5 separate regions of the Homo sapiens genome follow, and all the other regions are linked to region 1. The links are contacts of gene promoters, found by promoter capture Hi-C in human tissues and cell types (Jung and others, 2019). All regions are on one chromosome and are shown on one strand. Each heading gives the region's core, a stretch centred on a gene start or on the middle of the fragment in contact. The rest is flanking DNA. Distances are from core to core; before and after follow the strand shown. Region 1 holds the start of ZNF728 (zinc finger protein 728). Region 2 has its middle 78 kb from the start of ZNF431. Region 3 has its middle 180 kb from the start of LINC03085. Region 4 has its middle 160 kb from the start of LINC03085. Region 5 has its middle 67 kb from the start of LINC03085.

Region 1 (5,513 bases), core at 1,230-3,729:
CGGGAGGCAGAGATCGTGCCACTGCACCCCAGCCTGGGAACAGAGTGAGACTCCGTCTCAAAAAAAAAAAAAAAAGAATCTTCATCTCTCACCTTATAAAAAAATCAACTCAAGATGGATCAAATACTTTAATCTAAGACCTGAAACCACCCGAATTCTAAAGCATTGGAAAAACTCTTCCAGACATTGACTTGGGCAAAGAGTGCACGAACAAGAACCCCAAAGCAAATGCAACAAAAACAAAGACAGATGGGACTTAAACAATTCTCAAAAGAAGATATACAAATAGCCAACATAGAAAAAAAATGCTGAATATCACTAATGATTAATGATCAGGGAAATGCAAATCAAAACCACAACGTGATACCACCTTACTCTCGCAAGAATGACCATAATTGGCTGGTCATGGTGGCTCATGCCTGTAATCCCAGCACTTTGGGAGACCGAGACTGGTGGATCACCTGAGGTCAGGAGTTCCAGACCAGCTTGGCCAACATGGTAAAACCCCGCCTCTACTAAAAATACAAAAATTAGCAGGGCACGATGGCATGGGTCTGTAATCCCTGCTACTCGGGAGGCTGAGGCTGGAGAATCGCTTGAACCCAGGAGGCGGAGGTTGCAGTGAGCCGAGATCGACAGAGCGAGACTCCATCAAAAACAAACAAACAAACAAACAGAAAAGACCATAATCAAAACATCAAAAACTAGGCCAGGCATGGTGGCTCATGCCTGTAATTACAGCAAACTCCGTCTCAAAAAAAAAAGAAAAGAAAAGAAAAAAAGAGATAAAACCCCAAATATTGTATGTCCTCACTTATAAGTGGGAGCTAAGCTATGAAGATGCAAAGGCATAAAAATTACAAAATGGGGCCAGGCGCGGTGGCTCACGCTTGTAATCTCAGCACTTTGGGAGGCCGAGGCAAGTGAAACTCTGTCTCAAAAAAAAAAAAATTAAAAATTAAAAAGAATTACATAATGGACTCTGGGCACTCAGTGGGAAGGGTGGGAGAGGGGATGAGGGATGAAAGAGTACACATTGGGTACAGCGCACTCTACTTGGGAGATTGGTGCACCGAAATCTCAGAAATCACCACAAAAGAACTTATCCATGTAACCAAATACTACCTGTACCCCAAAACTATTGAAATATAATAATTTAAGACAAAAATAAAACCCCCAAACTCTCATAAGTTTAAGTTTATATGCTTTGGCTTTTTTTTTTTTTTTTTTTTAGAAAGGGTCTCACTCTGTCACCCAGAATGGAGTGCAGTGGCTTGATCAGGGCTCACTGCAGACACAACCTCCTGGGCTCAGGCAATCCTCCTACTTCAGCCCCTGAATAGCTGCTACTACAGGTTCAGGCCACCATGCTAAATTAGCTGGGTGTGGTGGAGGGCGCCTGTAATCCAGCTACTCGGGAGGCTGAGGCAGGAGAATCGCTTGAACCCAAGAGGGGGAGGTTGCAGTGAGCTGAGATCATGCCATTGCACTGTAGCCTGGCCAGCAGAGCAAGACTCTCAAATAAAATAAAATAAAGGTTGTTTCAAGTTAAAAAAAAAAGTCTAATAAAATCGAAAGAGTTAAAAAATTATAAGCGTTTATAAGGCCGGGCGCCGTGGCTCAAGCCTGTAATCCCAGCACTTTGGGAAGCCAAGGTGGGCGGATTGCCTGTCAGTAGTTTCAGACCAGCCTGGCCTCAACGTGGTGAAACCCTGTCTCTACTAAAAAAACAAAAATTAGCAGGGCGTGGTGGCGGGCGCCTGTAATCCCAGCTTCTGGGGAGGCTGAGGGAGGAGAATTACTTGCACCCGGGAGGCGGAGCTTTCAGTTAGCCGAGATCCTGCCACTGCACTCCAGCCTGGGCGGCAGAGGGAGACTGTCTCAAAAAGATAAACAAATAAAAAAAAGAGATTATAAAATATATATGAAAATCTAGAGCGTTCAAAAATGACAAATTTGATGGATTTATTTATAAGATTTTACTAAAATTAGGGTTTTTTGTTTTGTTTTTTGAGATGGCGTTTCACTCTTGTTGCCCAGGCTGGAGTGCAATGGCCCGATCTCGGCTCACTGCAACCTCCACCTCCTGGGTTCAAATGATTCTCCTGCTTCAGCCTCCTGAGTAGCTGGGATTGCAGGCGCCCACCACCACGCCCAACTAATTTTTGTATTTTTAGTAGAGAAGGAGTTTCACCAGGTCGACCAGGCTAGTCTTGAACTTCTGACCTCAGGTGATCCCCCCGCCTCCGCCTCCCAAACCGATGGGATTAAAGGCGTAAGCCATCACGCCCGGCCTTTGCGGCAGACTGGGCTGGCACTCTTTCTTCAGTCAGCCCAGCATCTGATAACATCTTCCGTCACTCAGGGCCTGAAGGGGCGGGGCCTTAAACATTATCCAATCAGGGACGCTGGACTGGGACCGTCCAATCAGGCACGCAGCTGGAGCGGACAGGGCGGCTTCCGGGATGTGGTAGGACCGTTGGCTCTCGCTGCACGCGGAGGTCAAGGTGTCGTCCTTACTGCTGTGTGTCGTCCGCTCCTAAAGGCCCAGCTTCTATGGCCCTGTGACCTGCAGGTATTGGGAGATTCACAACTAAGTCGCCAGGACCCCCGGAAGCCTAGAAATGGTGAGTCAGCCGGGTCCGACATCCCGAGAGAGTGGCAGCCGCTGGTTGGAACCGGTGGGAAGTGGCTGTGGCGGGACTCAGGCCTCCTCTCAGTCAGCTCCACAATCTGTGCCCCGTGTTCTCCTTGCCTAGCTCGACCTCAGTCCGCTTCAGGCATAAGATGGCGGCTGCGCTGACACCCGGTCCCCGGGCGTCCTGTCTTTTCCCTGCGCTGTGATTGTGCCCTGGCCTGGAGCCCTCTTGGGGCCGCTCTGCACCCGCAGCGCGGAGTCTCTCTCAGATGTGCAGGGAGCATGGGAGGGTCGTCACAGGAGAATCCTGACTCGGCGTGTGGGTTCAAGAATGGAAAGAGCTTTGGTCCGTGAGGTTCCCAGCCCCTGTTTTCTCCTATTAAAAATTTGCAGAAGTCACCGCACAAATATTAAATAATTTAACCAAAGAGTGATTCCAAAATTGTAGAGCACCCAGCTATGGGTTGTAGTTTATGGTCTATTGAAGAGGTTTGACGGAAGAGTTTTATAAGGTGCCTAATGAAGAAAACCAAATTCGATAATTGGTTAGGTACAGTTACGTAGTTTCTTAATTCGTACTATCAAGATGGAAATTTCTTGGTTATGTAATCAGAGGTTAATTGGCAGTTTATAGTTTGTTAAGCCTGAATTTTTTCCCCCAATATAGTAATTTACAAAAAATGCATTTGAATTAGTTTTTTTGAGACAAAGTCTCACTCTGTCGCCCTGGCTGGAGTGCAATGGCGCCGTCTGGGCTCACTGCAATCTCCGCCTCCCAGGTTCAAGCGATTCTCCTGCCTTAGCCTCTCAGGTAGCTGGGATTGCAGGCATGCGCCACCACGCCCCGTTAACTTTGTATTTTTAATAGCGATGGGGTTTCACCATGTTGGTCAGGCTGGTCTTGAACTCCTGATTTCAAGTGATCCACCTGCCTCGGCCTCCCAAAGTGCTGGGATTACAAGTGTAAGCCACCGCGCCTGGCCGAATTAGATTTTTTAAAAGTAGAAATTAGGAACTACAGCCTCCTCAGTCTAACTGCCAGCCACTTAATTATTTTCACACCCCACAGGGAACTGCTGTTTCCTTGCATTTTTCACATGTGTCCCAAGTAGGGCCTCAAGTCCATCCCCCATCCCCTATTTCTCCGGCCTGACTCTGGCTTGCAGTAAAATACTTGATTTTCACTTCCTTCTGACATTCCCAAATGCCAATTTCCCCTCCCTTATTCATATTATCAACAAATAGTTTAGTGTACATTTTGATACCTATTTTAATCATTTTTTGACAAAGCATTTGATGGCACATTTAAAAAGATTTGTTTTCTGTTTGTAAATATTTTTTCTTCTGTTTTCCGTAGACACAGATATCACAATGTTTTTGGGTCAAGATTTCCCTTTGGAAACTTTATAGGGAGATGTGTCCTCAGCCACCCTTCAGTTTTTTCTTGGACTTGAGATTCAGTACTGTCTGGGGAAAAACCAAGATACCCGCCATGGCTATGTCTGTGAGAGTGTCTAGTGAATATCAGCTCCTGGGTCTTTTTCTCCCATAAGACAACCTGAGGTATGGAGTGTAGCCTCTGATCTCCCATAAGACAACCTGAGATATGAAGCGTAGCTTCTCAAGAGAGCAGGTGAATGCACTGTGGCTGAGTCATCTTCTGGTGTGCTGTTTTTTTGGAAAGCTACTCCCTTGAGATATTAATATTGTCTTTACCCAACCCAGCTTCCATTTCTTGGAGACACATTGCTGTTCAGACAATCAGATGCTGGTATTGAAGGGGAAACCAAAATAATTTTTGCCCCTGCATTCTCTTAGGGGACAGAAAAATAGTGAAATAAAAATGGTAAAAGGTTTGTGAAATAAAATAGCACTCCAAAGACAAAAACAACTGACCCCAGTGAGATGGTGCAAAAACTTGCAAAGTAAAATATACCTGGGGCACTCTGGGGCATAGTTCAGAGTCTCCTGAGAGAATGATTATTGAGCACTTAAGTGAACAGGATGGGGTGGGAGAATCTCTCAAGTAATTGGATGGCCTGACTTGACACATGAGTCAGACATATCCGTACCTTGACATGATTAAATGCATTGTTCACTTATTTTGACCTCAGGGTTTTTTTTTTTTTGGTTTTTTTTTTTTTTTTTTTTGACAGTGTTTTCCTCTGTCGCCCAGGCTGTAGTGCAGTGGTGCAATCTTGGCTCACTGCAACCTCTGCATCACGAGTTCAAGTGATTCTCATGCCTCAGCCTCCCAAGTAGGTGGGACTACAGGTGCCCACCACCACACCTGGCTACTTTTTGTATTTTTAGTAGAGATGGGGGTTTGCCATGTTGACCAGGCTGTTTGAGCTGAAAATTCTGACCTCAAGTAATCTGCCCACCTTGGCCTCCCAAAGTGCTGGGATTGCAGGTGTGAGCCACTGTGCCCGGCTGACCTCAGTTTTTTAACTGTAAATTGCATTTTATTAGTAGGGCTTGAAAGGTAAGAAAATATTTACAAAGAGCATAAAAAGGTGAGTTTCAGAAAATAATATCTGTATATTTTATTTGTTGAAAATTCTCATTCACCTTTTTCTTTCTCAGAGTGAATTTAGGAGTTTTCTCTGGTGTTTTTTTTTTTGTTTTTTTGTTTTTTTGAGGCAGAGTCTTGCTCTGTCACCCAGGCTGGAGTGCAATGGTGGGATCTCGGCTCACTGCAAGCTCTGTCTCCAGGGTTTACGCCATTCTCCTGCTTCAGTCTCCCGAGTAGCTGGGACTACAGGCGCCCGCCACCACACCCAGCTAATTTTTTTGTATTTTTAGTAGAGACGGGGTTTCGCCATATTAGCCATGTTAGCCAGGGTGGTCTCGATCTCCTGACCTCATGATCCAC
Region 2 (5,513 bases), core at 1,622-4,121, 1.8 Mb after region 1:
CATAAGGTCATTCATATTGGAATTCATACTGAGGAGAAATTCTACAAATGTGAAGAATGTGGCAAAGGGCTTTACTGGTCCTCTTCCCTTACTAAAGAATGTGGAAAAGCTTTTAAACGGTACTTAAACCTTACTACACATAAGATAATTCCTGCTGGAGAGAAACCCTACAAATGTGAAGAATGTGGCAAAGGTTTCTATTGATTCTCATACTTACTAAACTTAAGAAAATTCACACTGGAGAGAAATTCTACAAATGTGAAGAATGTGGCAAAGGCTTTAATTGGTCCTCGACCCTTACTAAACATAAAAGAATTCATACCATACAGAAATCCTACAAATGTGTAAAATGTGACAAAGCTTTTAACCACTTTTCAATCTTGCCTACATATAAGATAATTCATGCTGGAAATCCTACAAATATGAAGAATGTCTCAAAGCTTTTTACTGATTCTCATACCTTACTAAACATAAAATAATTCATAAGGGAGAGAAATTATACAAATATGAAAAATCTTGCAAAGCTTTTAACAAATCTTCATCCATTACTAAACATAAGATAATTCATACTGGAGAGAAAACCTACAAATGTGAGGAATGTGGCAAAGCCTTTAACCTGTCCCCCCAACTTACTGCACATAAGATAACTTATACTGGAGAGAAGCCCTACAAATGTGAAAAATGTGGCAAACATTTTAACCAATCATCAACCCTTACTACACATATGTTAATTCATGCTGGAGAGAAACCCTACAAATATGAAGAATGTGGCAAAGCTTTTAACCAATCCTCAAAACTTACTAAGCATAACTCATACTGGAGAAAAATCTTACAAATGTGAAGAATGTGGTAAAGCCTTTATCCAGTCCTCAACTCCTACTAAACATAACATAAGCTGCTTACAACTGTGAAGAATGTGGCAAAGCTTTTAACCAGTCCTAAAACTTTATTGAACAAAATAATTCATTCAGGAGAGAAACCCTACAAATGTGAAGAATGTGACAAAGCCTTTAACCAGTCCTCAATTCTTAATAAACATAAGAAAATTCATATTGGAGAGAAACCCCATGAGTGTGAAAAATATGGCAAAGGCTTTAGCTAGTCCTCAGTTCTTAACACACATAAGATAATTCATACTGGAGAGAAACTCTACAAATCAGAAAGATGTGATAATGCTTTTGACAATACCTCAAACTTTTCTAACCATAAGAGAAATCATATTGCTGAGAAATCCTAGAAATGTGAAGAATGTGACAAAGTCTTTAAATGGTTGTCATACTTGATTATAGGTGATATAATTCATAGTGGAAAAAATTCCTACAAGTGAGAACAAGGTGGCAAAATTTTTAACTAATACTCACACCTTATTGCAGAGAAAAGCATTCATATTTGAGAAAAATTGTACAAATATAGACTGTGAAAAAGACATTAATATCTGCTCACATCTTACTAACACCAGAGAGTTAATACTTACTAAAAGCATGATAAGTGCAATTACCGTCAAAAGACCTTTCAGAAAATCTTATTCTTTAAAGTGAAGAAGAGGATTTATATTGAAGATGAGCATTACACGTGTAAAGAGGGTTGTAGTAGCTTTACTTGTATCAGATCTTATTGTCCACATTTTGTACTAGAGGAAAACTCTAAAGGAGTTGCTTAAACTTTGTTCAACATCAGGGAATTTATATTGAAGAGTTGTCTTGCAAATGTAATAAATTTGGGAAAACAAATTTTCAAAAACTACAGCTTAGAAAACACCAGAGTTTATACTACAATATGTTTTTGAAAATGCAGTAAAAATGAAAAAAAAAATTTAATTCAAATTTAAGTCTACATAAATATCAGAGAATTTATAGTAGAAATATATAAGGAACTGACACTTCAGATGTTATACTAAATCAGAGTTCTGAGTATAGAAAATAATCTAAAACTAAAGTTGGTATAAAAATTATTTGTATATAACTTTAAGAGGAGTAAAAGTTTTTTGCAGAGTAATAACTACATTCAAAGTATACTTTATTTCTTGAAAAAATTACAGATTTTTTGAAAGCAAATGATGTAATTCAACTGTCATTATTTTCTGCTGTTTCTTCATTCTTATTCACTTGTGAAAGTTTGTGATCATTTCTTGCTGCATCAAAGGTATGAGAGATTCTTTTTCATTAGGTGGGCATTATTTATGATCTTTTCTATGTACAAGTAAGGATATTAGAATGTAAGATGCATGATGAAAATCTAAGTGGAGAGATTCTTTGTGGTTAACTTACACTATTGAGTGATGCACGAGGTAGGTGTTAAGAGTGATATTCTTTGCATTACGAGAAAACTAGTAGTATATTATTCATATATTGTACTAATTGTACTTTTATATGATAAAATGCAGTACATTTTAAAAATTTTAGATTATGTGTGAAGTTAATCGTTTCAACATTTTTAACATGTTAAATACTATTGTGCATTCAATGAAGTGTTATTTTACCACAAAGATTAACCTTTTCCACTTTGCCCAAAAATATAGGTAAAAAATGTTAACAATATACTATTTGGTAACATAATGGACTAACATCTTTAGTCATCTCTTTTGCCAGTGGCTTTAAACTGCAAATAAGTTAAAGAATATTGTTCCTGTAGGTTAAATTTTTATTCTTAATCATTTAATTTGTTTTTCTTAATTTCTGTGGGTACATGAGTGTATATACTTATGGCATATATGGCATATTTTGATACACAAATACAATACATAATACTCACATCGAGATACATGTGGTATCCATCACCTCTAGCATTTATCCTTTGTATTACAAACAATCCAATTGTACACTTTTACTTATTTTAAAATGTACAATTATGGCCGGGTGCAGTGGCTCACGCCTGTAATCCCAGCACTTTTGGGAGGCCCTGGCGGATGGATCACCTGAGATTAGGAGTTTGAGATGGCCAGGAACCTGGGAAGTGGAGGTTACAGTGAGCTGAGATTGCACCACTCCACTCCAACCCAGGTGACACTGCAAGACTCCATCTCAAGCAAAAAAAGAAATAAAAAATAAAGTACGATTAAATTATTATTGACTACTGGGATATTTTTATGGTTATTATAGAAATCATATGCAAGTATAAATTAAATACATACATTTCTGAGTTCTGAGTACATATCTTAAAATTTTAAACATATATATATTTGAACTTGTGTCCTGTCTGCCTGCAAACACATACAGACTTTTAGGTTTGATATACAGAGGGTTAAATATACATTACTGTAGAGATAAACTTTAGGTGTAAGGAAATGATGGAGTAAGTAAGTCTGTGTTAGTATAAGTTTGTACTTATTTTCATAAGAAATATTGGAAAAATTATTTTAACAAGGTAACTAGTATAAAACTAAAAGCCTCAAAAATGCTGAAAGCAAATGTATACTCTCTGCTTTGTATTGAATTTACTACTATAGTTATTGTATATGAAATTGTTTTTTAATTTTCATTTTGAGATAGTTAATGTGTAGAAATGCTACTGACTTTGATGTTACTTTTGTATTTTGAAAGCTTAATAAATTTGTTTATTTTTAATAGTTTTTAGTAAAATCTTAGGCTTTTCTTTTCTTTTCTTTTTGAGATGGAGTCTCACGTTTGTCACCCAGGCTGGAGTGCAGTGGCATGATCTCGGCTCACTGCAACCTCTACCTCCCAGGTTCAAGCAATTCTCCTGCATTAGCCTCCAGAGTAGCTGGGATTACAGGTATTGTGCCACCAGGCCTGGCTAACTTTTTTTTTTTTCTTTTTGTATTTTTAGTTGAGATTGGGTTTCACCATGTTAGCCAGGCTGGTCTCGATCCTCCTGACCTCAGGTGGTCTGCCTGCCTCGGCCTCCAAAGTATTGGGATTACAGGCATGAGCCACTGCACCCAGCCAGTCTTAGGGTTTTCTATACTTCAGATTATGTATAAGGATAAAAGATAATTACACAGGAATAATTAACTTCCTTTTGTCCAATCTGGATGCCTTTGATTTTATTCTCTAATTTCTTTGCCTTAGATTCATTCTATGTTTAGTAAGACTGACTTTAGCAAGGATGAGTGGGCATCCTTGTCTTGTTCTAGCTCTTGAGTAAAATCTTGCAACATATCCCCATTTAGTATGTTGTTACCTGTGCATTTTTTGGTTGTATGTGGCACTTATTGGCTGAGGTGCCAATAATTTGATCTATAACAAATTTTTTCAGAGATTTATCATAAAGGAATGTCAAATTTTGCCAAACTTCCATTGTGTGCATCTATTCTTTTGTACTCTGCATCTATTTAAATGTTAGAGATGTGAAATCACAATTAATTCTATATATATACAAAAAATCATCAGAGACTACTATGAACATCTCTATGCCTGCAAACTAGAAAATTTTAAGAAAATAAATAAACTCCTGGATACACACAAATTTCCAAGATTGAACCAGGAAGAAACAGAAGTCTTGAACAGGGCAAAAATGTATAAAATATATATGATGAAATTGAATTAGTAATAAAAAACCTACCAACCATAAAAGCCCTGGATTATGTAAAATCACAACAAAATTTTACCTCATATACAAAGATGAGCTCGTACTACTACTGAATGTACTCCAAAAAATCAGGATGGAATTCCACCCTAACTCATTTTATAAAATCAATATTATCTTGATACCAAAATCTAGTGAAGGCACAACAAAAAAAGGAAACTACAGGCCAATATTTTTGGTAAACATTGAAACAAATATCCTCCATGAAATACGAGCAATCTGAGTTCATAAGCAAATCAAAACGTTTTGCCACAATCACGTGAGCTTAATTCCACCTATGCAAAGATATTTAATCATATGCAAGTCAGTAAGTGCAATTCACCATGTACAGATAATTAAAAAATTATACAATTAACACAATAGACACAGAAAATGCACTCAAGGAAATCCAATATTCATTCATGAAAATATTCTCAACAAAGAAACCATTAACAAAACATACCTCAAAATAGCAAGAGCCATGTATTAAAAATCCTCAGCCAACATTATACTGAAAAGGCAATAGCTGCATGCATTCTCCATTAGAATAAAAATAAGACAAAAATATCCATTCTAACACTCCTATTCAACATAATTTTAGACATCCTAGTTAGAACAATCCAAGAAAATAAAGAAATTAAAAGCATCTAAATAGAAAAAAAGGAAATTAAATTATCTTCACTGATAATGCTCTACCTAGAAAACCTTAAAGATTTCCAGAAGTATTTTAATTTGAAAATATAAATTATAACTTAAATACCTTCATTTTAATGCATTTTTGGTTAATATTATGGCTGATTGACAACTTAAGTTTTAAGAAAATTTTTTGGATCGAGGCCATTAATTATTACCATAATTTAGACAAAATAGCAATGAAAATCAATGTTCATTAGTGAAACAACTATGATGTAGCCCCTGGTAACCATTTCTCTCCCACCCAACATGAAAGCACCATCTTTGTGTCATCTCTTCCAGTTCCAAGAAAGAGG
Region 3 (5,513 bases), core at 814-3,313, 1.3 Mb before region 1:
GTACTTCATTTTTCACTATAGGCTTCAATTGGCTCCCAAATAAACCTTTGCAATACTTCCAAAACAGTGTTTCCAAACTGCTCAATCAAATAAAAGTTTTAACTCTGTGAGATGAATGTACACACCTGAAAGTAGTTTCTCAGAAAGTTTCTTTCTTGTTTTTCTCTGAAGATATTTTATTTTTCACTATAGGCCTCAATGTACTCCCAAATATCCCTTTGCAGATTCTACAAAAACAGTGATTCCAAATTTCTGAATAAAAAGAAAAGTTTAACTATGTGAGATGAATGCACACATCACAAAGCAGTTTCTCAGATTGCTTCCTTGTAGTTTTTATCCTGGCATACTTGCTTTTTTGCCATTGACCTCAATGAGCTCCAAAACATCCATTCACAAAATGGACAAAAACAGTGTTTCCAAGCTGCTGAATGAAAACAAAAGTTTAACTCTGTGGGATGAATGCACACATCACAAAGCAGTTTCTCAGAAATCTTCTTTCTAGTTCATATCTGAAGATATTTTGTTTTTCCCATAGGCCTCAAGTTGCTCCCAAATATCCCTTCACAGATTCTACAAAAACAGTGTTCCCAAACTGCTGAATGAAAAGAAAGGATTAACTGTGTGAGATGAAAGCACACATCACAAAGCAGTTTCCAAGAAAGCTTCTTTTCCGTATTTATCTGAAAATAATTTCTTTTTCACCACAGGCCTCAATTCGCTCCCAAATAGTGTTTCCAAACTGCTGATTGAAAAGTAATATTTCACTCTGCTACCTGAATGCAAACATCTCAAAGCAATTTCTCAGATAGCTTTGTTCTAGTTTTCATCCAGGGATACTTGCTTTTTCGCCATTGTCTTCAATGAGCTCCCAAATGTCCATTCGGAAAATGGACAAAAACAGAGTTTCCAAACTGCTGAATCAAATGACAGCTTTCATTCTGTTAGATAAATGGAGACCTCACAAGACAGTTTCTCAGAAAGCATCTTTCTAGTTTTTCTCTCAAGATATTTTCTTTTTCACCCTAGGCCTCAATGCAATTCAAAATACCCCTTCGCAGCTTCTATGAAAACAGTGTTTCCAAACTGCTGAACGAAAAGAAAAGTTTAACCTTGTGAAATGAATGCACATATTACAAGGGGGTTTCTCAGACAGCTTCCATCTAAAAGTTATCTTGGGATATTCGCTTTCTCACTTTTGGCATAAATGGCCTCCCAACTATCCCTTTGCTGATTCTACAAAAATGGATATTCCAAGCTGCTTAATGAAAAGAATGGTTTATCTCTGTGAGATGAATGCACACATGACAAAGTGATTTTTCAGATAGCTTCCTTCTAGTCTTTATCCTGGAATATTCACTTTTTCTCCATTGGTCTCAATGTGCTCCCAAATGTCCATTCACAGAATGGACAAAAACAGTTTTTCCAAACTGCTGAATTAAAAGAAATGGTTACTCTGTGAGATGAAGGCACACATCACAAAGCAGTTTCTCAGAAACATTTTCAGTTTTTATCTGAAGACATTTTCTTTTTCACCATAGACAATGCATTCTCAAATATCCCTTTGCAGGTTCTACAAAAACAGTGTTTCCAAAATGCCGAATGAAAAAGCAGGTTTATATCTGTGAGACGAATACACACGTCACAAAGAGGTTTCTCAGATAGCTTCCTTCTAGTTTTTATGCTGGGATATTCACTTTTTCACCACTGGCCTCAATGAGCTCACAAATGTGCATTCGCAGAATGGACAAAAACAGTTTATCCAAACTGCTAAATAGAAAGAAAGGATTAACTATGAGAGATGAAAGCACACATCACAAAACAGTTTAAAGAATGCTTCCTGCTAGTTTTTATCTGAAGATATATTCATTTTCAACATAGACCTCAATGCACTCCCAAATATCCCTTCACAGATTCTACAAAAACAGTGTTTCCAAAACTCTGAATCAAAGGAAAGTTTTAACTATGTGAGATGAATGCACATGTGGCAATCTTCTCCAAAAGATTCTTTCTAGTTTTTTATGAAGATATTTTCTTTTTCACCATAGATCTCAAACACTCCCAAATATCCCATCACAGATTCTACAAAAGCAGTTTTTCCAAACTGCTGAATGAATAGAAATGCTTAATTCTGTGAGATGAATGTATACATCACAAGGCGGTTTTTCAGATAGCTTCTTCTTGTTTTTATCCTGGGATATTCACTTTTTTGCCATTGTCGTCAATGAGCTCCCAAATGTCTGTTTGCAGAATGGAGAAAAACAGTGTTTCCAAATTCCTGAATCAAAACAAATGTTAAACTCTGTGTGATGAATGCACACATCACAAACCCTTTCTCAGAAAGCTTCTTTCTAGCTTTTATATGAAGATAGATTCTTTTTCAGCATAGGCCTCAATGAGCTCCCAAATATCAGTTTGCAGATTCTACAAAAGCAGCGTTTCCAATCTGCTGAATGAAAAGAAAGTTTATCTCTGTGAGATGAATGCACACATCATAAAGCAGTTTCTCAGAAAGATTCTTTCTATTTTGTATCTGAAGATATTTTCCTTTTCACCATAGGCCTCTATGCATTCTAAAATATCACTTCACAAATCCTATAAAAACAGTGTCTGCAAACTGCCGAATTAAAAGAAGCCTTTAATTCTGTGAGATGAATGCACACATCACAAAGTGGTTTCTCAGATAGCTTCCTTCTAGTTTTTCTCCTGAGATATTCACTTTTTTGTCATTGGCCTCAATGAGCTCCCAAATGTCCACTTGCAGAATGGACCAAAGCAGTGGTTCCAAACTGCTGAATCAAAAGAAAGGTTTAACTCTGTGAGATGAATGTACACATCACAAACAGTTTCTCTGAAAGTTCCATTCAACTTTTTATCTGAAGATATCTTCTGTTTGCCATGGGCCTCAATGCGTTCCCAAATATCCCTTCGCAGACCCTACAAAAACAGTGTTTCCAAACCACTTAATGAAAAGAATGGTTGCACTCTGCAAAATGAATGCACATATCACAAAGTGGTTTCTCAGATAGTTTCCTTCTGGTTTTTATTCTGGGATATTCACTTTTCCATCATTGGCCTCAATGAGTTCCTAAATGTCCATTCGCAGAATCGCCAAAAACAGTGTTACCAAACTGCTGAATCAAAAGAAAGGTTTCACTCTGTTAAATAAATGGACACATAACAAAGCAGTTTTTCAGATCTCTTCTTTCTAGTTTTTATCTGAAGATTTTTTCACTGTAGGCCTCAATGCGCTCCCAAATATTCCTTCACTGATTCTAAAAAAACAGTGTTTCCCAACTACTGAATGAAAAGAATGGTTTAACTCTTCAAGATGAATGCACTCATCACAAAGCAATTTCTCAGACAGCTTCCTTCTAGTTTTTCTCCTGATATATTCACTTTTTCACCATTGCCCTCAATGAAATCCCAGATGTCCATTTGCAGAATCCACAAAAGCAGTTTTTTCAAATTACTGAATCAAAAGAAAGGTTTAACACTGTGGGATGAATGCACACATCAAAAAGCAGTTTCTAAGAAAGCTTCTTTCTAGTTTTTGTATGAAGATATTTTCTTTTTCAACATAGGCCTTAATGTGCTGCCAAATATCCCTTCACAGATCCTACAAAAACAGTGTTTCCAAACTGATGAATGAAAATTATCGGGGAACCCGTCCTTGATAATTCAACTTTATTTCATGTAGGTTCTTTTCTATTTCCCTAAGTGTCAGCCAGTCTGAGAAATAAAGGGAAAGAGTACAAAAGAGAGAAATTATAAAGCTGGGTATCTGGGGGAGTTATCACATTTCGGCAGGTTCCTTGATGCCGTGCAAGCCACAAAACCACCAAGTTTTTATTAGTGATTTTCAAAAGGGGAGGGAGTGTACTAATAGGGTGTGGGTCACAGAGATCACATGAAGATACAGAGACAATATTTAAAGGTTTGGGGAAATGTCACAAGGCAAAAAGATATTTCTCCTATTTGCTATTGAAAGAAGATTTCCCAGTTTGGGGAAATCCTTCAAGGCAGTAATGACAGTAATTAACTCTGCCTTTTGATCAGAGGTGTAAGGGGTACAAATAAGCTTGTCTGTAGGACCTACATAATCAGCATTGCCATTACTGGAGCCATCACTGCACAGTGTAAAGGCCTCAGGAAAGGGCTGATCTTTGGTTAATCAATGGACCACCCAAGATGTCATTTTTATAAAATCAAACAATTTGTTCTTCTGGTAATGATTGTCAATAATGGCAATAAAATCAGCCAAGTGAATTTGCCACGGTACAGAATGTTGAAAGGTGGCCTGAACTTCGAGCCGATTTAAAGGAACTACAATTAAATTTGGATCAAATCCAGAAATTTTAAGTATTCTACACAGTGCCTGTCCAATTAGAGTGGCCATTTGATCTAGATAAACAGAGAAAGTTTTTGACACAGAATGAGGAAGAAAATACCACTCCACTAAATCATTATGTTGAACTATTAGTACAGTAGGAGAGTGTAATGAAGCAAAAACCAGAACCTGAAAAGGCTGAAATGGCTGTACTCTAGATAACTGAGTGGTTTGGATTCTTTCCTCTACGAATTCCAGTTCTGGTGAAGCCTCAGGGGTCAAAGTTCTGAGACTGCAGAGATTGGACTTTCCCTGCAGCATAGAAAACAATTTAGACAGTGCATAGGTTGTAATGCCTAAAGTAGGTCTTACATAATTAATGTTACCCAAAACTTTTTGGAAGTCATTTAAAGTTTTCAAAGAGTCTCTCCTAATTTCAACTTTTTAAGGTTGAATATGTTGTCTTTTGACCACTATTCCTAAATATTGAACAGAAGTGGTCTGTTGAATTTTATCCTGAGTGATGTGTAATCCAGCCTCTGTAACATGGTGGCTCAAACTTTGAAAATAGTCAATTAATTCTTTATCAGTGTGGGCAGCAATTAAAATATCATCAATATAATGAAGAATATAGGCCTGGGAAAATTGGGCTTGAACTGGTGAAAGAACTTGCCCAACATAAAATGGGCAGATTGTAGGGCTATTTAGTATTCCCTGAGGAATTATTAGAGTGACCAGATAAGTCCACACATCTAATTTACTTGTTTCTTTGTTTTGGTGTAATAAGCGTTGCATTGAAGTTTCCAGAGTAGGCATTTGAGATGGAGTCAGCAGAGAAGTGACAGGAAAAGCATGTGTAGATAGGGAAACTGAGGGTGAGGGGGTCGGACCAGAATGAGAGTGTGAGAAAGGGGCATTGGGGGAGCAGAAGGAGCAGAAATATACTGGTGATTATGGGTGTCCATATGTGAAGAAGGGTAAAGAAAAGCAGGCTGAGTGGATGGCAAAGTGACCAGTTGAGGAACCGAAATGACAGGAGGATGAGGGGCTGAAATGGACGGGGGAGGGCCTGAAGAATTATAGGTAAATTGTACTCAGTATGGTCCTACTTCTCCTTATGTTAAAATGGTATTACAAACTTTTTGTACTGAGGTCATTTTGTTTCCTTTAGACTGGGACCTTTTGG
Region 4 (5,513 bases), core at 2,144-4,643, 1.3 Mb before region 1:
GATACTTTCTTTTTCACTATAGGCCTCAATGTGCTCTGAAATATCCTGGAAACGGTGTTTCCAAACAGATGAATACAACTAATGGTTGAACTCTGAGAGATGAACGCACACATCACCAAGCGGTTTCTAAGACAGCTTCCTTCTAATTTTAATCCTGGGATATTGGCTTTTTTGCCTTTGGCCTCAATGAGCTCCCAAATATCCATTCGCAGAATGGACAAAAACAGTGTTTCCAAAGTGCTGAGTCAATAGAAATGTTTAAGTCTGTGAGATGAATGCACACATCACAAAGCAGTTTCTTACTAAGCTTCTTTCAAGTTTTTATCTGAAGATAATTTGTTTTTAACCGTAAGGCTCAATGCGCTACCAAATATCCCTTCACAGATTCTAGAAAAGCAATGTTCCCAAACTGCTGAATAAAAAGAAAGATTGAACTCTGTGAGATGAAAGCACACATCACAAAGCAATTACTCATAAATCTTCTTTCTAGTTTTTAACTGGAGATATTTTCTTTTTCAACACTGGCCTCAATTTGCTCCCAAATATCCTTTTGCAGATTCTACAAAAACAGTGTTTCCAAATTGCTGAATGAAAAGATCAGTTTAACTCTGTGAGATGAATGGACACATCACAAAGTGGTTTCTCAGACAGTTTCCTTCTAGTTTTCACCCTGGGATATTGGCTTTTTTGCTGTTTTCATCAATGAGCTTTCAAATGTCCATTCACAGAATGGACAAAAACAGTGTTTCCAAACTGCTGAATCAAAAGAAAGGTTTACCTCTGTTACATGAATGCACACATCCCAATTCAGTTTCACAGAAACCTTCTTTCTAGTTTTTATCTGAAGATTTTTTTCACCATACTCGTCAATGTGCTACCAAATATCCCTTTGCAGATTGTACAAAAACAGTTTTTCCAAACTGGTGATTGAAAAGAATGGTTTAACTCTGCAAGATGAATGAACACATTATAAAGGGGTGTCTCAAATAGCTTCCTTCTAGTTTTTATTCTGGGATAGTTACTTTTTCTCAATTGGCCTCAATGAGCTCCCAAGTGTCCATTCACAGAACAGACAAAACAGTGTTTCCAAACTGCTGATTCAAAGGAAAATTTTAACTCTGGGACACGAATGCACACATCACAAAACAGTTTCTCAGAAAGCTTCTTTCTAGTTTTTACCTGAAGATATTTTCTTTTTCACCATAGGCCTCAAATTGCTCCCAAATGTCCCTTTGCATAATCTAAAAAAAAAAACAGTGTTTCCAAATATGAATCAAAGGAAAGGTTAAAGTCTGTGAGATGAATGCCCATATCCCAAAGCAGTTTCTCAGAAAGCTTCTTTATAGGTTTTAACTGAAGATGTTTTCTTTTTCACCCTAGGCCTCAGTGCACTCCCAAATATCCCTTCACAGATTTTAGAAAAATAGTGTTTCCAAACTGCTGAATCAAAAGAAAGGTTTAACTTTTTGAGATGAATGCACACATCATGAAACAGTTTCTCAGAAACATTCCTACTCCTTTTTATCTGAAGATATTTTCTTTTTCACCATAGGCCTCAATACACTCCCAAATATCCCTTCACAGATTGTACAAAAAAAGTGTTTCCAAACTGCTGAATGAAAAGAAAGGTTTAACTATGTGAGATGAATGCACACATCACAAAGTGGTTTCTCAGATAGCTTCTTTCTAGTTTCTATCCAAGGATATTTGCTTTTTCCCCATAGGCCTCAAAGAGTTCCAAAATGTCCATTTGCAGAATGAACCAAAACAGTGTTTCCAAACTGCTGAATCAAAAGAAACGTTTAACTCTGTGAGATGAATGCACACCTCATTAAGCAGTTTCTCAGAAAGCTTCTTTCTAGTTTTTATCTGAAGGCATTTTTTTCATCACATGCCTCAATGCGCTCACAAATATCCCTTTAGAGATTCTCCAAAAACAGTGTGTTCAAACTGCTCAATGTAAAGAAACATTTAACCCTATGAGATGCATGCACCTATCAGAAAGTGGTTTCTCAGAAAGATTCTTTCTACATTTTATCAACGTTAATTTCTTATTCACCTTAGGCCTCAGTGGACTCCCAAATATACCTTCAGAGAGTCTACAGAAATGGTGTTTCCAAACCTCTGAATCCAAGGAAAGTTTTAACTCTGTGACATGAGTGTACACATCACAAAGCAGTATCTCAGAAAGTTACTTGCTAGTTTTTATCCGAAGATATTTTCTTTTTCACCAGAGGCGTCAATGTGCTACCAAATATCTCTTTGCAGATTCTACAAAAACAGTGCTTCCAAACTACTGAATCAAAATAAAGGTATAACTCTGTGAGATAAATGCACACATCAAAAAGCCATTTCTCAGATAGCTTCCTTCTAGTTTTTATCCTGTGATATTCGTTTCTTTGCTATTGGCCTAAATAAGCTCCAAAATGTCCCCTCGCAGAATAGACTAAAATGGTGTTACCAAACTGCTACAATAGGAGGAAGGTTTCAATCTGTGAGAGGAATGGACAATCACCTAGCAGTTTCTCAGAAAATCTCTTTCTAGTTTTTTATCTAGATGATATTTTCTTTTTACCATAGGCCTCAATGCACTCACATATATCCCTTCACAGATTCTACAAAAAAAAAGCATTTCCAAACTGCTGAATGAAAAGGAAGCTTTAACTCTGCGCAATTAATGCACACACAACAAGGTGGTTTCTTAGATAATTTCCTTCTAGCTTTTATCCTGGGATATTCGCTTTTTTGCCATTGGCCTCAATGATATGCCAAATATCCACTCGAATAATGGACAAATATAGGGTTTCCAACCTGCTGAATCAAAAGAAAGGTTTAACTCTGTAAGATGAATGCACACATCACAAAGCATTTTCTCAGACAGCTTCTTTATAATTTTTATCTGAAGATATTTTCTTTTCCACCCTAAGCCTCAATGCGCTCCCAAATATCACTGTGCAGATTCTAGAAAAATAGTTCTTCCAAACTACTGCATGAAAACAAATGTTTAACTCTGCAAGATGAATGCAGACATCTCAAATCGGTTTCTCAGATAGCTTCCTTGTAGTTCTTATCCTTGGATTTGCACTTTTTTGTCATTGGCCTCAATGAGCTCTAAAATATCCATTCACAGAAAGGACAAAAACAGTGTTTCCAAACTCACAAATCAAAAGAAAGTTTTGACTATGGGAGACGAATGAACACATTACAAAGCAGTTTCTCAGAAAGCTTCTTAGTAGTTTGTATCTGAAGATATTTTCCTTTCACCATAGTGCTCAATATGTTCCCAAATATCCCTTCGCAGATTGTGGAAAAACAGTGTTTCCAAACTTATGAATCAACAGAAAGGTTTAACTTAGTGAGATGAATGCACACATCACAGAGCGGTTTCTCAGATAGATTTCTTCTTATTTTTACCGTGGGATATTTGTTTTTTTGCCATTGACCTCAGTGAGCTCCAAAATGCCCATTTGCAGAATGGACAAAGACAGTGTTTCCAAACGGCTGAATAAAAAGAAAAGTTTTGCTCTGTGAGATAAATGCACACATCACAAAGCAGTTTCTCAGAAACCTTCTTTCTAGTTTTCATCTGAGTATATTTTCTTTTTAACCACAGGCTTCAATGCACTCAAAATATCCCTTAGATATTTCTACAAAAACAGTGTTTCCAAACTGCTGAATGAAAAGATAGGTTTCACTCTGTGAAATGAATGCACACTTCACAAAGCGGTTTCTCAGATAGCTTCCTTCTAGTTTTTATCCTGGTATAATTGCATAATCGCCATTGGTCTCAAAGAACTCCCAGATGTCCATTCGCAGAATGGGCAAAAACAATGTTTCCAAACTGCTAAATTAAAAGAAAAATTTAACTCTGTGAGATGAATGTTCACATCACAAAGCAGTTTTTCAGTTCCAGTTTTTATCTGAAGCTAATTTCTTTTTCAACTTTGGCCTCAATGAGCTCCCTAATATCCCTTCTCAGATTCTGGGAAAACAGCATTTCCAAACTGCTGAATCAAAAGAAAGTTTAAACTCTGTGAAATGAATGCACACATCACAAAGCTGTTTCTCAGAGAGCTTCCTTCTAGTTTTTATCCTGGGACATTTGTGTAATCACCATTGGTCTCAATGAGCTCCCATATGTCCACTCGCAGAATGGACAAAAATAGTGTTTCCAAACTGCTGAATCAAAAGAAAAATTTAACTCTGTGAGATGAATGCACACATCGCAAAGTGGTTTCTCAGATAGCTTCCTTTTAGGTTTTATCCTGGGATATTCAGTCTTTCACCATTGACCTCAATGAGCTCCTGAATGTCCATTTGCAGAATGGAAAAAAACAGTTTTTCCAAAGTGCTGATTCAAAAGAAACTTTTAACTCTGTGAAGTGAATACACACATCACAAAGCAGTTTCTCAGAAAGCTTCTTTCTAGTTTTTATCTGAAGATATTTTCTTTTTCACCATTGGCCTCAGTGTGCTCCCAAATATCCCTTTGCAGATTCTACAAAAACAGTGTTTCCAAACTGCTTAATGGAAAGAATGGTTTATCACTGTGAGATGAATTCACGCATCACACGACAGTTTTTCAGATAGCTTCCTTCTAGGTTTTATCCTGGTATATTCACTTTTTCGCCATTGGTGTCTATGAGCTCCCAAATGTCCATTCGCAGAATGGATAAAAACAGTGTTTCCAAACTGCTGAATCAGAAGAAAGTTTTCACTCTGTCAGATGAATGCACACATCACAAAGCAGTTTTTCAGAAAGCTTCTTTTCAGTTTTTATCTGAAGATACTTTCTTTTCCAACATAGGCCTCAATGTGCTCCCAAATATCACTTCGCAGATTCTACAAAAACCGTGTTTCCAAACTGCTAAATGAAAAAGAAAGGTTTCATGATGTGAGATGAATGCACACATGACAAAGTCGCTTCCCAGATAGCTTCCTTCCAGTTTTTATCCTGGGATATTGGCTTTTTGGCTATTGCCCTCGATGAGCTCACAAATGTCCATTCACAGAATGGAGAAAAAGAGTCATTCCAAACTGCAGAATTGAAAGAAAAGTTTAGCTCTGTGAAATGAATGCACACATCATGAAGCAGTTTTTCAGGATGGTCCTTTCTCGTTTTAATCTGAAGATATTTCCTTTTTCACCATAGGCCTCAATATGCTCCCAAATATCCCTTTGCAGATTCTACAAAAACACTGTTTCCAAAGTGCTGAATGAAAATAAATGTTTAACTCTGTGAGATGAATGCAGACATCATAAAGCAGTTTCTTAGATAGCTTCCTTCTAGCTTTTATCCTGGGATATTTGCTTTTTTGCCATTGGCCTCAATGGGCTCCCAAAAGCCCATTCACAAAATGGACAAAAACAGTGTTTATAAACTGCTGAATAAAAGAAAGATTTAACTATCTGAGATGAATGCACAAGACACAAATCAGCTTCTTTGAAATCTTCCTTCTAATTTTTATGTGAAGATAATTTCTTTTTCACCATAGGCCGCATGCGCTCCCAAA
Region 5 (5,513 bases), core at 1,928-4,427, 1.2 Mb before region 1:
GTGTGCATTCATCTCACAGAGATAAAACTTCCTTTTTATTGAACAGTTTGGAAACGCTGTTTTGCTAGAATCTGCAAAAGTATACTTAGGAACGCAATCAGGCCTGTGGTGAAAAAGGAAATATCCTCAGACAAAACTTAGAAAGAAGCTTTCTGATTAACTGCTCTGTGAGGTGTACATTCATCTCACAGAGTTAAACCTTTTTTTGATTGAGCATCTTAGAAACACTATTTTGGTAGAACCTGTGAAGGGTATTTTGGAGCACATTGAGGACTTGGGTGAAAAAGGAAATATCTTCACATAAAAACTAGAAAGAAGCTTTCTGAGAAACTGCTATGGGTTGTCTGCATTTGTCTCACATAGTTTAAGTATCCTTTTGATTTAGCAGTTTGGAAACAGTTTTTGTAAAATCTGTGAAAGGATATTTGGGAGTGCACTGGTGCCTAAGGTGAAAAAGAAATATCCTCAGATAAAAACCAGAAAGGTGTTTTCTGAGAAACTGCTTTGTGATGTGTGCATTCATCTCACAGGGTTAAACCTGTCTTTTGATTGAGCAGTTTGGAAACACTGCTTTTGTAGAATGTTTCAAGGGATATAAGGGAACACATTGAAGCCTATGGTGAAAAGGGAAATATCTTCACATAAAAACTACAAAGAATATTTCTCAAAACCTGCTTGTAATGTCTGAATTTGTTTAACAAAGGTTAAGCATTCCTTTGATTGAGCAGTTTGCAAGCACACTTTTTGTCGAATCTGTGAGAGGATATTTGGGATCACATTGAGGCCTATGGCAAAAAAGGAAATATCCTCAGGTAAAAACCAGAAAGATGCTTTCTGAGAAACTGTTTTGTGATGTGTGCATTCATCTCACACATTTAAAGTTTTCTTTTGTTTGACCAGTTTGGAAACACTGATTTGGTAGAATCTGTGAAGGGATATTTGGGAGCACATTGAGGCCTATGGTGAAAAAGGAAATATGCTCAGATAAACACTAGAAAGACGCTTTCTGAGAAACAGCCTTGTGAGGTGTGCATTCGTCTCACAGAGATAAACTTTTCCTTTGATTGAGCAGTTTGAAAACACTGTTTTGTTAGAATCTCCACAGGGATATTTGGGAGTGCCTTGACGCCTATGGTGGAAAAAGAAATATCTTCAGATAAAAACCAGAAAAAAGCTTTTTGAGATACTGATGTGTGATGTGTGCATTCATCCCACTGAGTAAATACTTTCTTTTCACTGAGCAGTTTGGAAAGACTGTTTATGCAGGATCCATGAAGGGATATTTGGGAGCATAGAGGCCTACTGTGAAAAAGGAATATCTTCAGATAAATATAGAAAGAAGCTTCATGAGAAACTGCTTAGTGATGGGTACATTCATCTAACAGAATTGAACTTTTTCTTCTGATTGAGCAGTTTGTAAACACCATTTTTGTAGAATCTGTGAAGGGATATTTGGAATGGAATGAGGCCTATGGTGAAAAAGGAAATATCTTCACATAAAAACTAGAAAGATTGCTGAGAAACTGCTTTGTGATGTGTGCATTCATCTCACAGGGTTAATCTTTTCTTCTGATTGAGGAGTTTGGAAACTGTATTTTTCTAGAATCTGAAAAGGGATATTTGGGAGCACAATGAGGCTTATGGTGAAAAAGAAAATATCTTCTGATGAAAACTAGAAAGAACCTTTCTGAGAAACTGCTTTGTGATGTGTGCATTCATCTCACAGAGTTAAATTTTCTTTTTATTGAGTGCTTCGGAAACACTGTTTTTATAAAGTCTGTGAAGGGATTTATGATACCACATTGAGGCCTATGCTGAAAAAGAAATATCTTCACATAAAATCTAGAAAGAAGCTTTCTGAAACACTGCTTTCTGATGTGTGCATCCATCTCACAGAGCTAAACCTTTCTTTTGATTGAGCAGTTTGAAAATACTGTTTTGGTAGAATCTATGAAGGGATATTTGGAAGCATATTTAGACCTATGGTGAAAAAGGAAATATCTTCACATAAAAACCAGAAAGATACTTTCTGAGAAACTGCTTTGTGATGTATGCATTTGTCTCACAGACATAAAGCTTCCTTTTTACTGGGCACCTTGGAACACTGTTTTTGTAGAATCTGTGAAAGGATACTTCAGAATGCAATGAGGCCTAAGGTGAAAAAGGAAATATCCTCAGATAAAAATTAGAAGTAGCTTTCTGATCGACTGCTTTGTGATGTGTCCATTCATCTCATGGAGTTTAATCTTTCCATTGATTGAGCATCTTGGAAACACTGCTTTTGTACTATCTGCCAAGGATTTCTGGGAGCACATTGAGACCTATGGTGAAAAAAGAAGCATCTTCACATAAAAAGTAGAAAGAAGATTTCTGAGAAACTGCTTTGTGATGTGTACATTCATTTCACAGAGTTAAAGATTTCTTTGATTGAGAAGTTTGGAAACACTCTTTTAATATAATCTGTCCATGGATATATGGGAAGCATTGAGCCCTACATTGAAAAAGGAAATATCTTCACATAAAAACTAGAAAGAAGCTTTCTGAGAAACTGCTTTGTGATGTGTGCATTCATCTCTCAGAGTTAAACCTTTCTTCTGATTGAGCAGTTTGGAAGCACTGTTTTTGTAGAACCTGCAAAGGGATATTTGGGAACACATTGAGGCCTATGGTGAAAAAGGAAATATCGTCAATAAAAACTAGAAAGATTTCTAAGAAACAGCTTCATGGTGTGTGCTTTCACGTCACAGAGTTAATCTTTTCCTTTGATTAAGTAGTTTGGAAACTCTGTTTTTCTAGAATATGCAAAGGGATATTTGGGAGCACATTGAGGCCTATGGTGAAAAAGGAAATATCTTCAGATAAATACTACAAAGAAGTGTTCTGAGAAACAGATTTGTGACGTGTACTTTCATCTCACAGAGTTAAACCTTTCTTTTTATTTAGCATTTTGGAAACACTGTTTTTTGTGCAATCTGCAAAGGGATATTTGGGAGTTCCTCAAGGCCTATGTTGAAAAAGGAGGTATTTTCACATAAAAATTAGAAAGAAGCTTTCTGAGAAACTGCTTTCTGATGTGTGCATTCATCTTGCAGAGTTAATCCTTCCTTTTGATTGAGCAGTTTGGAAAGACTGTTTTTGTAGAATCTGTGAAGGATATTTGGGAGTGCTTTGAGGCCTACTTAGAAAAAGGAAACATCTTCAGATAAATCTAGAAAGAAGCTTTCTGAGAAACTGCTTTGTGACGGATGCATTGATCTCACATAGTAAAACCTATGTGCTGATTGAGCAGTATGGAAACACTGTGTAGAATCTGCGAAGGGATATTTGGGAATGGATTGAGGCCTATAGTGAAAAAGGAAATGTTCTTAGATATAACCAGAAAGATTTCTGAGAAACAGCTTTGTGATGTGTGCATTCATCTCACAAAGTTAAACCATTCCTTTGATTGAGCAGTTTTGAAACACTGTTTTTGTAGGATCTGGGAAAGGACATTTTTGAGCACATTGAGGCCTATGGTTGAAAAGGAAATACATTCAGATAAAAAACAGAAAGATTCTTTTGGAGAAACTGGTTTGTGATGTGTGGATTCATCTCACAGAGTTAAAATATTCTTTTGATTGAGCAGTTTGGAAACACTGTTTTTGTAGAATTTGATAAGGGATATTTGGGAGCCCTTTGAGGCCAATGGTGAAAAAGGAAATATTCTCAGATAAAAACTAGAAAGAATCTTTCTGATAAACTGGTTGTGATGTGTGCATTCATCTCACAGAGATACACATTTCTTGTGATTGAGCAGTTTGGAAACACTATTTTTGTAGAATCTGTGAAGGGATATTTGGGAATGCAATGAGGCCTATGGTGAAAAAGGAAATATCTTCACATAAAAACTAGAAAGATTTCTGAGAAACAGCTTTGTTTCTGTGTGCCTTCATCTCACACAGTTAATCCTTTCTTTTGATTGAGCAGTTTGGAAACTGTGTTTTTCTAGAATCTGCAAATGGATATTTGGAAACACAATGAGGACCAAGGTGAAAAAGACAATATCTTCCAATGAAAAGTAGAAAGAAGCTTTCTGAGAAAATTCTTTGTGATGTGTAAATTAATATCTCAGAGTTACATTTTCTGTTGATGGTGCTCTTTGGAAACACTGCTTTTGTAGAATCTGCCAAGGAATTTATGAGAGCACATTGAGGCCTATGGTGAAAAAGGAATTATCCTCAGATAAAATCTAGAAAGAAGCTTTCTGAGACACTGCTTTGTAATTTGTGCATTCAAATCACAGAGTTAAACTTTTCTTTTGATCGAGTAGTTTGGATAAACTGTTTCTGTAGAATCTGTGAAGGGATATTTGGGAGCGCTTTGAGGCTGAGAGTGAAAAAAGGAAATATCTTCACATAAAAACCAGAAAGACACTTTCTGAGAAACTGCTTTGTGATGTGTGCATTTGTCTCACAGAGATAAAGCTTCCTTTTTATTGGGAAGCTTGGAAACACTGTTTTTGTGGAATCTGTGAAAGGATACTTCGGAATGCAATGAGGCCTATGGTGAAAAAGAAAATATCCTCAGATAAAAAATTGAAAGAAGCTTTCTGACTAACTGCTTTTGATGAGTCCATTCATCTCACAGAGTTAAACCTTTCCTTTGATGGTGCATCTTGGAAACATTGTGTTTCTAGAATCTGTGAAGGATATTTTGGAGCACATTCAGGCCTATGGTGGAAGTGGAAACATCTTCACATAAAAACTAGAAAGAATATTTCAGAGAAACTGATTTGTGTTGTGTGCATTCATCTCAGAGAGTTAAATATTTCTTTTGATTGAGCAGTTTGGAAACACTGTTTTAATATAATCTGTCAATGGATATATGGGAGCTCTTTGAGCCCTATGGTGAAAAAGAAAATATCTTCACATAAAAACTAGAAAGAAGCTTTCCCAGAAACTGCTTTGTGATGTGTGCATTCGTCTCTCTGAGTTAAAACTTTCTTCTGATTGAGCAGTTTGGAAACACTGTTTTTGTTGGATCTGCAAAGGGACAATCAGGAAAGCATTGAGGTCTATGGTGAAAAAGGAAATATCATCAGATAAAAACCAGAAAGATTTCTGAGAAACAGTTTTGTGATGTGTGCTTTCATCTCACAGAGTTAATCTTTTGTTTTGATTAAGCAGTTTGGAAACTGTGTATTTCTAGAATCTGTGAAGGGATATTTTGGAGTGCATTGAGGCCTACGGTGAAAAAGGAAATATCTTTACATAAATACTGGAAAGAAGTTTTGTGAGAAAGTGCTCTGTGATGTATTTATTCATCTCACAGAGTTAAACCTTTCTTTTGATTAGGCAGTTTGGAAACACTGTTTTTATAGAATCTGTCAAGGGATATAAGGGAGCACATTGAGGCCAATGGTGAAAAAGGACATATCTTCACATAAATATTAGAAAGATGTGCTCTGAGAAACAGCTTTGTGATGTGTACATTCATCTCACAGAATTAAACCTTTCTTTTTATATAGCAGCTTG

The links. The method cuts DNA at HindIII sites, captures the fragments that hold promoters and counts their contacts. A contact is called where the count stands out against the background at its distance.
Region 2: a contact is called between a fragment that was not itself captured here and the fragment with the promoter of ZNF728 in region 1, in 1 of the 25 tissues and cell types used here (dorsolateral prefrontal cortex).
Region 3: a fragment that was not itself captured here is called in contact with the fragment with the promoter of ZNF728 in region 1 in 1 of the 25 tissues and cell types used here (dorsolateral prefrontal cortex).
Region 4: a contact is called between a fragment that was not itself captured here and the fragment with the promoter of ZNF728 in region 1, in 1 of the 25 tissues and cell types used here (dorsolateral prefrontal cortex).
Region 5: a fragment that was not itself captured here is called in contact with the fragment with the promoter of ZNF728 in region 1 in 1 of the 25 tissues and cell types used here (dorsolateral prefrontal cortex).

The regions. Positions count from the first base shown.
Region 1 is chr19:23,000,142-23,005,654 of GRCh38, reverse strand. ZNF728 (zinc finger protein 728) reads left to right here and starts at 2,479. Exons shown (of 4, transcript NM_001267716.2): 1 at 2,479-2,627. The coding sequence starts at 2,625. The HindIII fragment of the contact is 10,079 bases long and covers 1-5,513 here.
Region 2 is chr19:21,217,192-21,222,704 of GRCh38, reverse strand. No RefSeq gene overlaps it. Among named protein-coding and RNA genes, the nearest start is that of ZNF431, 78 kb to the right of the region's middle. RefSeq lists an enhancer at 625-1,220. The HindIII fragment of the contact is 4,040 bases long and covers 852-4,891 here.
Region 3 is chr19:24,324,117-24,329,629 of GRCh38, reverse strand. No RefSeq gene overlaps it. Among named protein-coding and RNA genes, the nearest start is that of LINC03085, 180 kb to the right of the region's middle. The HindIII fragment of the contact is 3,488 bases long and covers 320-3,807 here.
Region 4 is chr19:24,302,037-24,307,549 of GRCh38, reverse strand. No RefSeq gene overlaps it. Among named protein-coding and RNA genes, the nearest start is that of LINC03085, 160 kb to the right of the region's middle. The HindIII fragment of the contact is 3,599 bases long and covers 1,594-5,192 here.
Region 5 is chr19:24,210,577-24,216,089 of GRCh38, reverse strand. No RefSeq gene overlaps it. Among named protein-coding and RNA genes, the nearest start is that of LINC03085, 67 kb to the right of the region's middle. The HindIII fragment of the contact is 3,157 bases long and covers 1,599-4,755 here.